Linked DNA regions of Homo sapiens: region 2 is linked to region 1. The links are contacts of gene promoters, found by promoter capture Hi-C in blood cells and fetal thymus (Javierre and others, 2016). All regions are on one chromosome and are shown on one strand. The core of a region is centred on a gene start or on the middle of the fragment in contact, and the rest is flanking DNA. Distances in the headings are between cores, read along the strand shown.

Evidence for each region. The method cuts DNA at HindIII sites, captures the fragments that hold promoters and counts their contacts. A CHiCAGO score of 5 or more calls a contact.
Region 2: a contact is called between a fragment that was not itself captured here and the fragment with the promoter of ZNF793 in region 1, in 2 of 17 cell types (total CD4 T cells and non-activated CD4 T cells). The highest score is 5.5, in total CD4 T cells.

What each region holds. Positions count from the first base shown.
Region 1 is chr19:37,505,263-37,512,525 of GRCh38, forward strand. ZNF793 (zinc finger protein 793) reads left to right here and starts at 1,677. Exons shown (of 8, transcript NM_001013659.3): 1 at 1,677-1,704; 2 at 3,003-3,141. It overlaps ZNF793-AS1 (ZNF793 antisense RNA 1), which reads right to left and starts at 1,825. Exons shown (of 3, transcript NR_110723.1): 1 at 1,577-1,825; 2 at 584-778. RefSeq lists enhancers at 595-1,386, 1,387-2,178, 1,744-1,893. The HindIII fragment of the contact is 7,284 bases long and covers 818-7,263 here.
Region 2 is chr19:36,417,619-36,424,942 of GRCh38, forward strand. It overlaps ZFP82 (ZFP82 zinc finger protein), which reads right to left and starts at 1,026. Exons shown (of 5, transcript NM_133466.4): 1 at 874-1,026. It also overlaps the pseudogene ACOT4P1. RefSeq lists enhancers at 395-554, 4,085-4,767. The HindIII fragment of the contact is 563 bases long and covers 2,216-2,778 here.

The DNA.
Region 1 (7,263 bases), core at 427-2,926:
CAACAAACATGTAGTATCTTACACACTTTCTGAGGGTGAGGAATATAGGAGCTGCTATAGCTGAGTGCTTGTGACTGTGTCTCTCACGCAGTTGCAGTCAAACTATTGGCAGGGGCTGCTGTCATCTCAAGGTTTGACTGGGGCTGGGAGATGTGCTTCCAAGGGTGATACACTTGGTTATAGGAAGGCCCCAGCTACTCCCAGGCTATTGGGTGGAGGGCTTAGTTCCTTGCTACCTGGGCCTCTCCATAGGCTGTCTCGGTATCCTCATGACATGGCAACTAACTTCTCTCAAAGTGGGGGCAGCAGCCTTTAAGACAGAACTCAAGGTGCCATTTATTATATTTAATCTCAGCAGTGACATCTATCACTGCTACTGCATTCTATTAGTCTCACAGTCCAACCCTGGTACAATGTGGGAGGGAACTACATAAGAGTGTGAATAGTAGGAGGTAGGAATCATTGGGAAACATTTTGAGGTCAGTTATTGTATCAGTTGCTAGGATGACCAGTTGGAATTAGGATTTTTTTAAAAAGCCATTTTCATAAGACAAGGCAATCTTTTCTAGAGATGTTCCAATACCTGTGATATGCGGAGCACTGCGCTAGGTGGTATTCAAGGCAGGCCTGTAGTGAATGCTGTTGGACCCAGCCACCACCCCTGAGCAATCATATGCAGACCGCTGGCTTCTTAACTGCAGACACCTACAGACTCAGCCTAAGACTTTCCCACGAGGCAGGCTCGAAGTGCTGGAGCTTTAACACCTCTGGAGTGGCCCTAAAACAATTAGGAAGAGAGATGGTGTAGACATATGTAAGCTTCATCGGCCTGGTGGTTGTGAAAACTTGGAAGTGGTTTCTACACAATCCCCCAGAGGTCCCAAGCTGACTGAGCCCTCATTGATCCAGAGCTAATCTGCTCACCTATGCACTGTATATTCGTTCCCATCGCTCCCGTCTCACTTCTCCATCCCCCACCTACCAAATAAACTGCTTGCACTCATTCTTTCCTCAGGTCGGCTTCTCGGGCAAGCCTCCTTAGGTAAAAACCTTGCTTTCAACATTTCCTTTCCATTATGCGCTAAGAACTCTGATCTCTTCCCGCTGCGGCAGCCCCGCCCTTTCCTTGCGGCTCCGCCCTTTCCGTGAAGTCACGCCCGTCCTTAGGCTGTCTCTGTCTCCCTAAGAGCGAGTCTCTTCGCTGCTCTCTAACTCCTAGAGCTGGCTCAGAAAGAGTTTCACATTGCCATAGGGGAGCTCCTAGGAGAGGCTGCACCCATTGCACGTAAGAAGCGGTAAAAATGTACGCGGCCATCTTACCAGGCTGCCGGAGACAAAGAAAGCTCAGCTTTGATGTCTGGGCGCCACCATGTTGGCCACAGGAGGTTTTGGCATCTGAGATGCTGAGTTAAGAGCAGAGACGACATCTCTGTTTAGGGATCCAGGGACACTTCCTTCTCCTTGTCCTAAAATAGCCTTATCTTTTGGTCTAGCAAAGGGCTTAATCATCCGTTTTACGGCACAGTTTTAAACATGGCCGCCCCAGGTAGGAGTCAAGTGGGCGTCGCCATCATACCTCCAATTACAGCTTTGAGAAACCCAGAATCCTGTTCACTGGAAGGTTGCCGGGTGGCGGCTGACAGCCTCAAAGTCGCAATTGAGTCTGCGCACCGGCCATTCAGGATGGGACGACCTTATACCGCGGTGAGGCGGCGTGGCAGGACGACCAATTTCAGATTCAGGGCGCGGATGCAGCATAAATGGGAAGGCACGGTTTGAGAAACGGTCAAACCTGGGACTAGTGGAGGATAGTGAGCTGCCGACTACGGTGGCCGACTGGGTCAGCTATGGGTGCCCGTGAGGGTCAATGACAAGGGAACTGAAGGGTTAAGAGATTCGGCGTCTGAGCCTCGCGGGGCCTCAGTGGTGGCGGACAGAGGTTTGCGGGAGTCAGTGGCACGGTCTCTGAAGAAGATGGATTGGGAGTGTGTGGGAATCAATAAATGCGAGTTCTGTGAAATGTCTTGATTTTCAGGGTGCATGGGGTCAGTAATAGTGGTCTTCATGGGTCTGGGGTCAGTTGGGATTTTTCAGACACTGGTTTAGAGATCTTTAAGGTTAATGATCGGAGCCCGAGAGGATCAGTGATCGGAGGTTCTAAGTTCTGTGGGCAGTAATAGTTTGGGTACTGGAATTGGTGATTGTGGAAACTTTGGGGTTCAAATGAGGGAGGTCAGTGGTGATGAATGTTTGGAGAAATGTTTTGGGCCATCGGTGATTGAGACTTACTTCATATCATCGGTGGAGGATCGGAGAGTATTAACGATTGGACTTTTGTAGATCAGGGAATGGAGAATAGAGTCAAGTGTGCTTATCTTAAAGGTACGCCTCAATGAGGCTCAGTGATTCGGACTGTCACTTGTGGGTGGGAGTGGGACTGTGAGAATCAACAATTGATCCTCAGTCGTTGGGATATCATTGGCAATCAGTGTGGATTCATGATTGGGGGCTGTGTAATTTCACTGGCAATCAGATCGGATCGGTGTTCTTTGTAGTTACTGACCTGTAGTCTCTCCTGGTCAGATTTGAACATAGGGGAATATCAGTGACTATGAAAACCTCTGAGGGTTGGAGATTGGAGGCCAGTGATTGGGGGCACTATGCGTGTCTGATTAGGAGACTTATAGGGGTTGGTGTTGAGGGTCCTGAAATGTGGAGATTGGGGATGGGAAAATCACAGATTTGAGGCTGCAAGCCTGCATAGCGGGAACACATTTCACTCAGGTGACACTCCCTAGCTGAATAGCAGCCAGTTCCTCTCCACCAAGGCCCATCTGAAAACTCTTTTTTGAACCCACACCCTTTTTATTGTTCTCTACAATAATGAAAATAATTTGAAAGGATCGCGTGCTAAACTTATCTAAAGTAACATGTTACTAAAGACGTGGCTTCTATTCTTGTTAGGGATCTAATGCATATTTTTTCCTAATGTTTCCTTTAAGGCTCTTTCTGGCAAAGGTAATGACATACGCATCTGTGCCAGCATCCCAAGAGTGAGGCTGGTTTCTGGAAATCCATTCTGACTCTGTGACAGCGGGGATGGATGTGACCTTGCCCGTGGTTAGAAAACAAATTTACTGAGTAAGTATCTAAAATGATAATGTAGGCTGTGTGCAGTGGTTCATGCCTGTAATCCCAGCACTTTGGGAGGCTGAGGTGGGTGGATCATTTGAAGTCAGGAATTACTAGCCTGGTCAACATGGTGAAACCCTGCCTCTACTAAAAACACAAAAATTAGCCGGGCGTGGTGGCGGGCGCCTGAGGTCCCAGCTACTCTGGAGGCTGAGGCAGGAGAATCGTTTGAACCCAAGAGGTGGAGATTGCAGTGAAACGAGATTGTACCACTGCACTCCAGCCCGGGTGACAGAATGAGACTCTGTCTCAAGATAAATAAATAAATATAAATAAACAAAATAAAATAAAATGATAATGTAAAAGATTTGGCTGAAAGAGCAAACAGAGTGTTTAGAAAATACTTTTATCTAGGCTCAACTTAAATTATCAAAGGAAGAGAAACTAGATTTGGAATTTATTGTATTCTGAGAAACTTTTTGCCTTGTCCTATATATTTTAGGCATAGCCATTTTTAACCTCCACTAATCAATTCCTTATAAAGTCCTGGCAGAAAAAATTCAAGACAGATAAAGCCACAACCGCCACAAAACAAAATGTAAGCTACTTTTAGAAACTGTTCCTCACTGAAATTAAAATTGAACTAATAGTTATTAAAATGGCTGAGATGGGATTGCAAATAAAATGGAAATAAGATTTGAAAAAATAGATTTAGGGGATATAAGTGCAGTTTTGTTACATGGGTATATTTCACAGTGGGGAAGCCTGGGCTTTTAGTGTAACTATCACTTGAATAATGTACATTGTACCAATCTGATAATTTCTCATCCCTTACCCGCTTCCTACCCTCCCTCCATTCAGAGTCATCTGTGTCTATTATTCTGCTTTCTATATCCATGTGTACACATTATTATCTTATAAGTGAGAACATGCAGTATTTGACTTTCTATTTCTGAGTTAGAAAATAAGATTTTGACCATTAATGAAAAAGTGCAATGTCAAAACAATATTTTAATTTTAAAAAATTATTACGTTTGATCTTTATGTAACCTTCAGACAAAGCACAATGCCTGTAGCATCTTAAGAAATAAAGGCAGCTGGATGCTAAGGCAGGTAACATCTTTCAGAACCCACATAGGTCAAATTTTAGTTTTAAAAGCAGATAGTCCCTGTTTTTCACTTGCACAGAATCAAAGACAGATAGCTGCTTAGCATGGGTGAAATAATAAGCCAGGGTAAGGAGTTTGGGTAATTTTTTCTCCATGTTGATTCCCTTCACCACCTATACTGTGCTCAGTGCCAGGTTTCAGAGCAAATAATTAAAAAGAAATTTTACATAAACTTTTTATTGTGATATATATGCAAAAATGTATATAAATATGTAGCTCAATGAATTGTCACAAGGGAATACCCCTGGGTAATGCACTCAGATCAGAAAACAACATTCTAGCACCGTGCCCTCATGATGCCCCTCCCAGTCACTACTCTGCCAGAGGTTCCCTAGCTTCTAATCTTAGTATTGTCTGTTTTTGATCTCTAATTTAATGGGATATTCATTGGGGGGGAGGAGCACCATGGGGAGAGGCAAGATGTGGCTGTGTTTAAACAAAATTTCCAAGTTTGAATTGAGATAATTTCATTTATATAACAGATACTTTTCCAGGTCATTAAATATTCCTTGTTTGGCCAGGCACAGTGGCTTACACCTGTAATCTCAGTGCTTTGGAAGGCTGGGGTAGGAGGGTTGTTTGAGGCCAGGATCTTGAGACCAGCCTGCGCAACATAGCGAAACTCCATCATTACAAAAAATTTAAAAATAAGCTGGGTAGTCTGGGCATGTTGGCTGATGCCTGTAATCCCAGCACTTTGGGAGGCCGAGGCAGGTGGACCACTTGAGGTCAGGAGTTCAAGACCAGCCTGGCCAACATGGTGAAACTCCGTCTCTACTAAAACTACAAAAAAAAAAAAAAATTAGCTGGGCTTGGTGGTGGGCGCCTGTAATCCCAACTACTTGGGAGGCTGAGGCAGGAGAATTAGTTAAACCCAGGAGGCAGAGGTTACAGTGAGCCGAGATTGCACCACTGCATTCCAGCCTGGGCAACAAGAGTGAAACTCCATCTCAAAAAAAAAAAAAAAAAAATTAGCTGGGTGTGGTGGCTCACACTTGTGATCCTAGCTACTGGAAAGGCTGAAGTGAGAGGATTCCTTGAGCCCAGGAGTTCAAGGTTGCAGTGAGCTATGATTGTGCCACTGCACCCTAGCCTGGGTGACAGAGTGAGACCCTGTTTCAAAAAAAAAAATTCTTTTCTTTTTTTTTTTTGAGACAGGGTCTCACTCTATTGCCCAGGCTGGAGTGCAGTGGCACGATCTCGGCTTACTGCAACCCCTGCCTCCCAGGTTCACACCAGTCTCCTGCCTCAGCCTCCCGAGTAGCTGGGACTACAGGTGCCCATGACCACGCCCAGCTACTTTTTTGTATTTTTAGTAGAGACGGGGGTTTCACTGTGTTAGCCAGGATGGTCTCAATCTCCTGACCTCGTGATCCGCCCACCTCAGTCTCCCAAAGTGCTGGGATTACAGGCGTGAGCCACCACACCCGGCCAAAAAATTCTTTAAAAAAATTGAGGCATAATACACATGTAGTGAAGTGGGCTTATCTTTAAGGTGCAGCTCAATGAATTTTTATATTACAGAGTCCTGTAACCACAGCCTAGATCAAGATATTCATCACTTCTAACACCTGGAAGGTGTCCTTACTGGTCAATACCTACTGCCACCCTAGGGGTAACTAGTGTTTAATATAGTGGATTACTTTTGCATGCTTTTGAATTTGAATTGAATTATATATCTCCCCTGTGAATCCACTTGATTGACTCATATTCACTGAATTTGATAGGATTCCATTTGAATCATATAAACGTGAAGCCAAGGCATTCATACCATGAGGTAATTTTGTTTGAAATTCTGAAACCACATGAATACCAGGACAAAATTCTAAGCTGAATGCCGGGCGTGGTGGCTCATGCCTGTAATCCCAGCACTTTGCAAGGATGAGGTGGGAGGATCAGGAGCTTGAGACCAGCCTGGCCAACACAGTGAAAACCCATCTCTACTAAAAATACAAAAATCAGATGGGCATGGTGACAAGCACCTGTAATCCCAGCTGCTCAGGAGGCTGAGGCAGGAGAATCATTTGCACCTGAGAGGCAGAGGTTGCGGTGAGCTGAGATTGCACCACTGCACTCTAGCCTGAGCAACAGAACAAGACTCTGTCTCAAAAAAATAAAAAAGAAATTCTAATCTGAAGTTCTGGCTTGGCCATCTGAGATTGCCTCTTTTCTATTATTCTCCCTGGAAGCCAAAAACATACACAGTGAACTAGACCCTGAGGTTTTAAAGTGGGTTTCTAGTAGGGTCCCATTAATGAAGCTAACGGTTAAGGACTCTTCTCAGTAGGTAGTTTGGAGGGGGATTTTCAGTCCCTTGGTCAAAATCTCTTAGTCTTTAGGGACTGACCATTGACTACAGAGACCTGAATGAAGTAGCGTGAAAAAGAGCCTCTCTAGAGGCTGGCTGCTTGAGGGCCAAGACATAGTGGTGACTCAACAAATGCAGGGTTATCTCGGAGGAGTCTGCCTTAGGGATTCTGGAAGCTGCTGGTAGATTCACTCCCAGGCAGAGATGCCTCTGTCCCTCACATACAACCTGACAATATGGGAAAGCAGCTAACCTCTTCTTTAATCTTTTCATCTTGCTCACCTTTCCACACACATAAGAGATTATTGTTTTGTTTTGGTTTTGATTTTAAATAATTTCAGATTTAGAAAAGTTATAAGAATAGGCCCGGTGTGGTGGCTCATGCCTGTAATCCCAGCACTTTGGGAGGCCGAGGTGGGTGGATCACGAGGTCAAGAGATTGAGACCATCCTGGCCAACATGATGAAACCCTGTCTCTACTAAAAATACAAAAATTAGCCAGGGGTGGTGGTGCGTGCCTGTAGTCCCAGCTACTCAGGAGGCTGAGGCAGGAGAATCACTTGAACCAGGGAGTCAGAGGTTGCAGTGAGCCGAGATCACGCCACTACACTCCAGCCTGGCGACAGAGCAAGACTCCGTTTCAAAATAATAATA
Region 2 (7,324 bases), core at 1,247-3,746, 1.1 Mb before region 1:
CGCATAGGGCACAATGCCCCCACCGCCCACCCACACATAACCAGAGTAACATAAGAGAGATGGTGTTGTTAACTCTTCCCAGTATCAAAGAAAGGCCAGGGTCATGGATGCCCGGGGCTAGAACTGGAGTTCACAATAGCTTCCTGGAAGCAATGCTGTGGTTCTGAAACCTGCAGCTGGACTCTTCAGAGTTGTGAGTGCACGTGCGTGGGTCCGGGTCCGCGAGGAGGTGGTGTGGGAGTCCCTTCCAGGAGCAAGCCTGGGCGGGAGCGGGGGCTCGTTCAGTTCTAATATTCCTATCCCAAGGTCGGGTCTGAGCCTTGTTTCGCTGTTGCCCAGGCTGGAGAGTAGTGGTGCTATCATAGCTCGCTGCAGCCTCAATCTCCTCCTAGGCTCAAGCCATCCTCCCGCCTCAGCCTCTCGAGTGGCTGGGACCACAGGAGCACGCCATCACACCCGGCTCATTTTTTAAATTTCTGGTACAGATGGGAGTTTCGCTTTGCTGCCCAGGCTGGTCTCGAACTCCTGGCTTCCAGCGATCCTCCCGCCTCGCTCTCCCAGAGCTCTGGGATTACAGATGTGAGCCACCTGGTCCGGCCTAGTCTGCGCGTTTCTGCTGGGAGTCTTTGGCGTGCAGAAACTGACCGAGGGCCATTTCTCTGCAGCTGGGCCCGGTGTGGGCAGAGGATGCTGGGGTCAGTCACGCACTCCACGGCCACAACAACCTTCGCTCATACAATAGTCTCTGCACCCAAGTCAGCCGCACAGACTCCGTCACGTCCCAGCCCCGGCCCCGTCACGCCCACGACACACACACCCGGGCCTGAGGCGCGGGCTCCCGCCCCTCTGCGATACTGCAGTGGCCCCGCTTACCTCTCTTTACCCCCTGGGCCGCAGCGCTTTTCCTACAGATTACCAGGACCGACGCTCCGGGCCAGGACTGCTCACTCGGGGCGCGAACCCGAGGCACAGCGATGCCCGAACGGAGGAAGCCGCTGCCGGGTCACGCCACAATCCCCGGGGCCTAACGGGCTGCGCGCGGAGGCTGCTGGGAGGGCCGGGCGCGCTCACGGAGTGCGCAGGCGCGGCCAGTCTCAAGGGTCCGCTCGCTGGTGCAGCCCCTGCTCTGCGTGAACCCGGAGCCGGAGCTAGGTCCGTCCCAGCGAGGCTGCGCTTCGAGTCCCTTAGCGCCTGGGGACGGCGCGGCAGGGCCTGGAGGGGAGCGGGGACAGATGGCTGGCGCGTTAAAGAGGGGCGCCCGCGACCGCCTCTCTATAGTGCCAACTAGGGAGCCCTGTGAGCGAGGACGGCGCTGCGAGTCTGTCCCTGGCGCGCTCCTGGGTGGGATTCTTTCACTGGGTGTGGCTGTTGGGATTTGAGACCGTGTGACTCCGGAGATTCGGGGAAGCCAGTTCCTATATTTTCCATTTCTGTATTTTTAAATGGTAAAAACAATGAAAAGGAGAACAATATTTTGTGAAATATGAAAATCATACATGTCAAATTTCAGTGTCCATAAATAAAAGTTTTATTGGAACATAGCCGTGTTTGATTGTGTACTGTCTATTGCTATATTTGAGCTACAAGGACAGACTCGAGTAGTTACACAGACCAGATGGCCCACGCAGCCTAAAATACAGTCAGTTCTCACTATTCACAGTAGTTATGGTCTATAAACTTGCTACAAACACGGAATTAGTGAATACCATTCCACTGCTTCTAGGGGAAATACAGGGTTAGTTTCCTGTAAGCATCTGGTCACATTTTAGTCAACCGATGAATGCATAAGCTTATTTTATTGTGTTTATTTTCTTTTTTTCTTTTTTTTTTTTTTTTTTGAGATAGGGTCTTGCTCTGTCACCCAGGCTGGAGTGCAGTGGTGGGATCTTGGCTCACTGCAACCTCCTCCGCCTCCCGGGTTCCAGCAATTCTCCTGCCTCAGCCCCCAGAGTAGCTGGGAATACAGATGCATGTCACCATGCCCAGCTGATTTTTGTATTTTGTAGAAACGGAGTTTCACCATGTTGACCAGGCTGGTCTCAAACTCCTGACCTCAGGTGATCCACCCGCCTTGGCCTCCCAAAAGTGCTGGGATTATAGGCATGAGCCACCGCGCCTGGCCTTATTGTGTTTCTATTTAAACACTTTAATATATATTATTGATTCATTAACATTGAACTCATGGCCAACAGCTCCATAACTCATGCCTGAATGAAGCTTATCTAACACATGTATTTTTTCTGTAAGACACATGACCGCTTTCTCATTCATAGGAACATCAACAGCACTTTAGTACTACTACATTTGGGGTCCCTTTGAAACAGCAAAATCACCAGCAAAAAACAAAAATATGAGAAGCCAAGGTACTAAATGGACTGCAAAAAGGGTACCTGTTTACAGTATGAGAGCTGAAATAAGAAGATAGAGGGTCACTTTGTTTGACTTTGGCTGAGAACATGCCTGTTAAGGGACTCAAAAAGGTTCACCGCTCTTCGGATGTCCACAAATGACCACAAAGGTGCTGCAAATATTGACTCTGGGTTTATAAAAAAGTTTTAGCAAGTAGATGAATTCACAAATTCAGAATCTGTGAATGAAGATTGACTGTATTTACTATCAGGCCCTTTAAAGAAAAAGTTTGCCAATCCCTGTTTTTATATGTCCCTCTTAGTTATACAGCTAGTGTTTAAAAACTACTTGAAATAATTATTTTCCCTGTGCCACCAATTATGTCTATAATTGATTGTACCCCATTAAATAAGCACAAAGAAAAAAGAAAGCTTTCTTTATAGAAGAAGGCCAGCTAATAACTATCAAGGGTTTGATTTTACGTGGCTTAGACACGCTGCTTCAAATGCATTTAAGATGTTTGGTTTTAACAAGGATTTTGCAACAGTATAGTGTTTTCCTTAAGTTCAATGTCATTTCTATGTCATGGCAGCTGTCACCTGCAGTTAGGTAAGACAGTGACATCATTAACATGGATGCATTTTCATGGCATGAAGGCTAGCCATTGATGGGGTAATATAACACAATTTATCAGTAAACGCTGAGTTTTCTTTGAAGTCAGTCTCTGATTTCTTACAGTGCTTGATGTCTGCCTTGCCTGCTAGTGACCAATTCCCCTGCGTCTTTACAGAGCCTTGTTACTCACTCAGTGTAAAGACAGTGGGGGAAACAAGGTTTCCCAAAGTATCCTTATGTGCAAAAGTGTTTCTTACTACTTTGGAAATACTAAGCTGAGTTTAATGTTTATTCTTTTTCTACCAACAGACACAAAAAGGACAAGCACATGCCTTAGAATATTCAATACAATTTTCTACAGCGATATGGTTAAATACTCTTCTGTCTTCACTACTTTTTTGTTTTTACTTTACTTGGAAATTTTAATTCTCTAGGAATAACGGGGCAGGAGTCTAAAATAATACTTTGTGGGAGTGAAGTATATATTTTTTTCCAAGTAAAAAAAAAAAATCAGGCCAGGCGTGATGGCTTAGGCCAGGCGTGATGACTCATGCCTGTAGTCCCACATACTCGGAAGGCCAAGGCAGGAGGATAGCTTGAGCCTGTGAGATCGAGATTACAGTGAGCTATGGATCGGCCACTGCACTCCGGGCTGGGCGACAGAGCGAGACCCTGTCTCAAAATTAAAAAAAGGAAAAAAAAAAAAAAAAAAGTCTGCGCTCCCCGGGGCCCAAGGAGAGGACCCAGGAGAGGAGTCTGGCTCCTTTTGCCTCAGACGAGTCCAGGGCGCCGGGTTAACTGGTCTAAAGTCCCAGGCGCTTTCTGGGACTGCTCAGCCACCGGCCGCTCCCGGCACCAGGGGACGCCGGACGCCCTCTGGACAATCGGCGCACTTGCCACGATCTTGGACGGGCCTCGGGCCTCGACCTTAAGATTCCCCGCTCCAGCTCCGAGATGTCAGCAACGCTGATCCTGGAGCCCGCGGGCCGCGGCTGCCGAGACAAGCCGGTGCGCATCACCATGCGCGGCCTGGCTTCGGAGCCGCTGGACACGCTGCGCGCGCGTCCCTGCGCGACGAGAAGGCTGGGCTCTTCCGCTACTGCGCCGACGCCCGCGGCGAGCTGGACCTGGAGCGCGCGCCCGTGCTGGGCGGCAGCTTTAGGGGGCTAGAGTCCATGGGGCTGCTCTGGGCCCTGGAATCCAAGAAACCTTTTTGGCGCTTTCTGAAGCGGGACGTACAGATTCCCTTTATCGTGGAGTTGGAGGTGCTGGACGGCCACGACCCCGAGCCTGGACGGCTGTTGTGACAGGCGCGGCACGAGCGCGACTTCCTCCCACAAGGGGTGCGGAGCGATTCGGTGCGCGCGGGCCGGGTGCGCGCCACGCTCTTCCTGCCGCCAGGACCTGGACCCTTCCTAGGGATCATTGGCATCTTTGGTAATGGAGGGAGCCTGTTGGAATATCGAGCCAGCCTCCTTGCTGGCCATGGCTTTGCCACGTTCGCTCTAGCTTGTTATAACTTTGAAGATCTCCCCAAGAACGTGGACAACATACCCCTGGAGTACTTCGAAGAAGCCCTATGCTACATGCTTCAACATCCCCAGGTAAAAGGCCCAGGCACTGGGCTTTGGGGCATTTCTCTAGGAGCTGATATTTGTCTCTCAATGGCCTCATTCTTGAAGAATGACTCAGACACAGTTTCCATCAATGGATCCGGGATCAGTGGGAACAGAGGCATAAACTGTAAGCAGAATAGCATTCCACCATTGGGCTATGACCTGAGGAGAATCAAGGTAGCTTTCTCAGGCCTCGTGGACGTCGTGGATATAAAGAATGATCTTGTAGGAGGGTATAAGAACCCCAGCATGATTTCAATGGAGAAGGCCCAGGGCCCCATCATTTTCATTGTTGGTCAGGATGACCATAACTGGAGGAGTGAGTTGTATGCCCAGTCTCTGAACGGTTACGGGCCCATGGAAAGGAAAAACCCCAGATCATCTGTTACCCTGGGACTGGGCTTTACACTGAGCCTCCTTACTTCCCCCTGTGCCCAGCTTCCCTTCACAAATTACTGAACAAACACGTGATATGGGTTGGGGAGCCAGGGCTCATTCTAAGGCCCAGGTAGATGCCTGGAAGCAAATTCTAGCCGCCTTCTGCAAACACCTGGGAGGTACCCAGAAAACAGCTTTCCCTAAATTGTAATGCGTTTGTCTGTTGTTGACATGAGAGAGTCAAGATCAGATTCTAGTGTTCAATAACCCTATGTGAATCAGCTGTCTCCTGGATAACATTAAAGCCATGTCTTTGTCATTAAAAAAAAAAAAAATCGGCCGGGCGCAGTAGCTCACGCCTGTAATCCCAGCACTTTGGGAGGCTGAGGCATGCAGATCATGAGGTCAGGAGTTCGAGACCAGCCTGGCCAACATGGCGAAACCCCATCTCTACAAAAAATACAAAAATCAGCCAGGAGTGGTGGCGGGCACCTGTGATCCCAGCTACTTGGGAGGCTGAGGCAGGAGAATCGCTTGAACCCGGGAAGCGGAGGTTGCAGTGAGCCAAGATCATGTCATTGCACTCCATCCTGGAAGATAAGAGCAAGATTCTGTCTCAAGAAAAAAAAAATTAGTAAACTAGAAATCTCTGAACAAAGTATCATACATGTAATTTAATTTTCCCATAGATATAGGTAAAGAGAAGTTGTTGAGTTACAGCCTCTATCTAGCACAGCAATCTCCTCAAAACACAAGGTAGCCGCCCGGAGAGGCCACAGAGGAGATATCTAAGAGATATAACACTGGGGATGTTTGCAATTGGAAATTAAATGACATTTTAGAAATGTAGTTATCAATGTCAAGCCTTGATAGACATCAGTCTGAAACCTAATACATGTTTTATATATAATAAATTTAAACAGCTTAAATTCTCATCCATTCAAAATGGGAGAAAAACTAAGTAAATGTGATAAATGTATTGAGGTGTTTGGCTTTCAATCAATGCTTCCTGATACTCGAAAAGTCTTCACAGGGAAGGAACCAAATAAATGCAGAGTATGGAAAAAATGAAGCCATACACATATTATTGTGTGGTAAATATTTCCATTGAAAGTCAAATCTTTACACTCACCGAAGCATTTCCATAAGAGAAAAGATGTATATTAGAAATGTAAATGTTTTTATAGCAATTGAAATCTTTACAGAGGTAGAGAAATCTGGTAACTGTTATTAGTGTAGTAGGGATTTAAGCTAAGTTCTTGTCTCATGGTAGTCATCCAGGTTCTTGATGTTTTGAACAAAGAATTGGACAAAATGCACAAAGCAACAAAACAATGAAGCAACGGAAGCACAGATGTATTGAAATGAAAGTACACTCTACAGAGTGGGAGCAGGACCAAGCCTCAAAGAGTGCTGGTTACAGAATTTCCTGGGGTTTAAATACCCTCTAGAGGCTTCCCATTGGTTACTTGGTTACACCCTATGTAAATGAAGGAGTGGCCCACAACCAGTCTGATTGGTTGCAGAAGACAGGACCAATCAGAGACTAAATAGTAGTTACCAAGTTACGCCCTATGCAAATATCTGATTGATTGCGGGAGGGGACCAATCAGAGGTACTTTCCATTTTTCATCTGCCACACAGTGCAAAGGTAGTAACCTCTGATCCTTTTGTTATTTGGGTGTGGAGAGACGGGGTTTTCCTTTTGATTCAGTTCTAAGAAGTCAGCGGGAATGGCCTTAGGTTCCCTGCCTCCAGACCTATTCTCCTGTCTCACCTCCATTTATCACTAAAGAGTTCACAATACATGACCCTCCAGAAAAGAGACATGTGACATTAATATGTCAGACTCAACCAGTGTCTTCACACTGGAATGACTTTATTAGTGTGAAGCTGGAGTAACATTTTATCATTAGCACAGAACGAGAAGCATTGCAGATGATAGAGCCTTTTTTGGTCACCAAGTGACGCAGCCAGTACACTGTTGACTAGCAGTGATGGTAGCAGGCCTTCTTGCCTTGGTCCTGATCTTAAAGGGAAAGATTTCGGTATTTCATCACTAAGTAAAAAATGTGTTGTTGGTTTTTTGAAACAGGGTCTCCCTCTGTCGCCTAGGTTGGAGTGCAATGGTGCCATCAGGGCTCACTGCAGCCTCTACCTCCTAGGCTCAAGTAGTTCTCCTGACTCAGCCTCCTGAGTAGCTGGGACAAGTACCACCACACCCAGCTAATTTTTAAAATTTTTTGTAGAGATGAGGTCTCACTATATTGCCCAGGCTGGTCTCAAACTCCTGGGCTCAAGTAATCCTCCTGCCTCAGCCTCCCGAAGTGCTGGGATTACAGGTGTGAGGCACCATGCCCATCAAA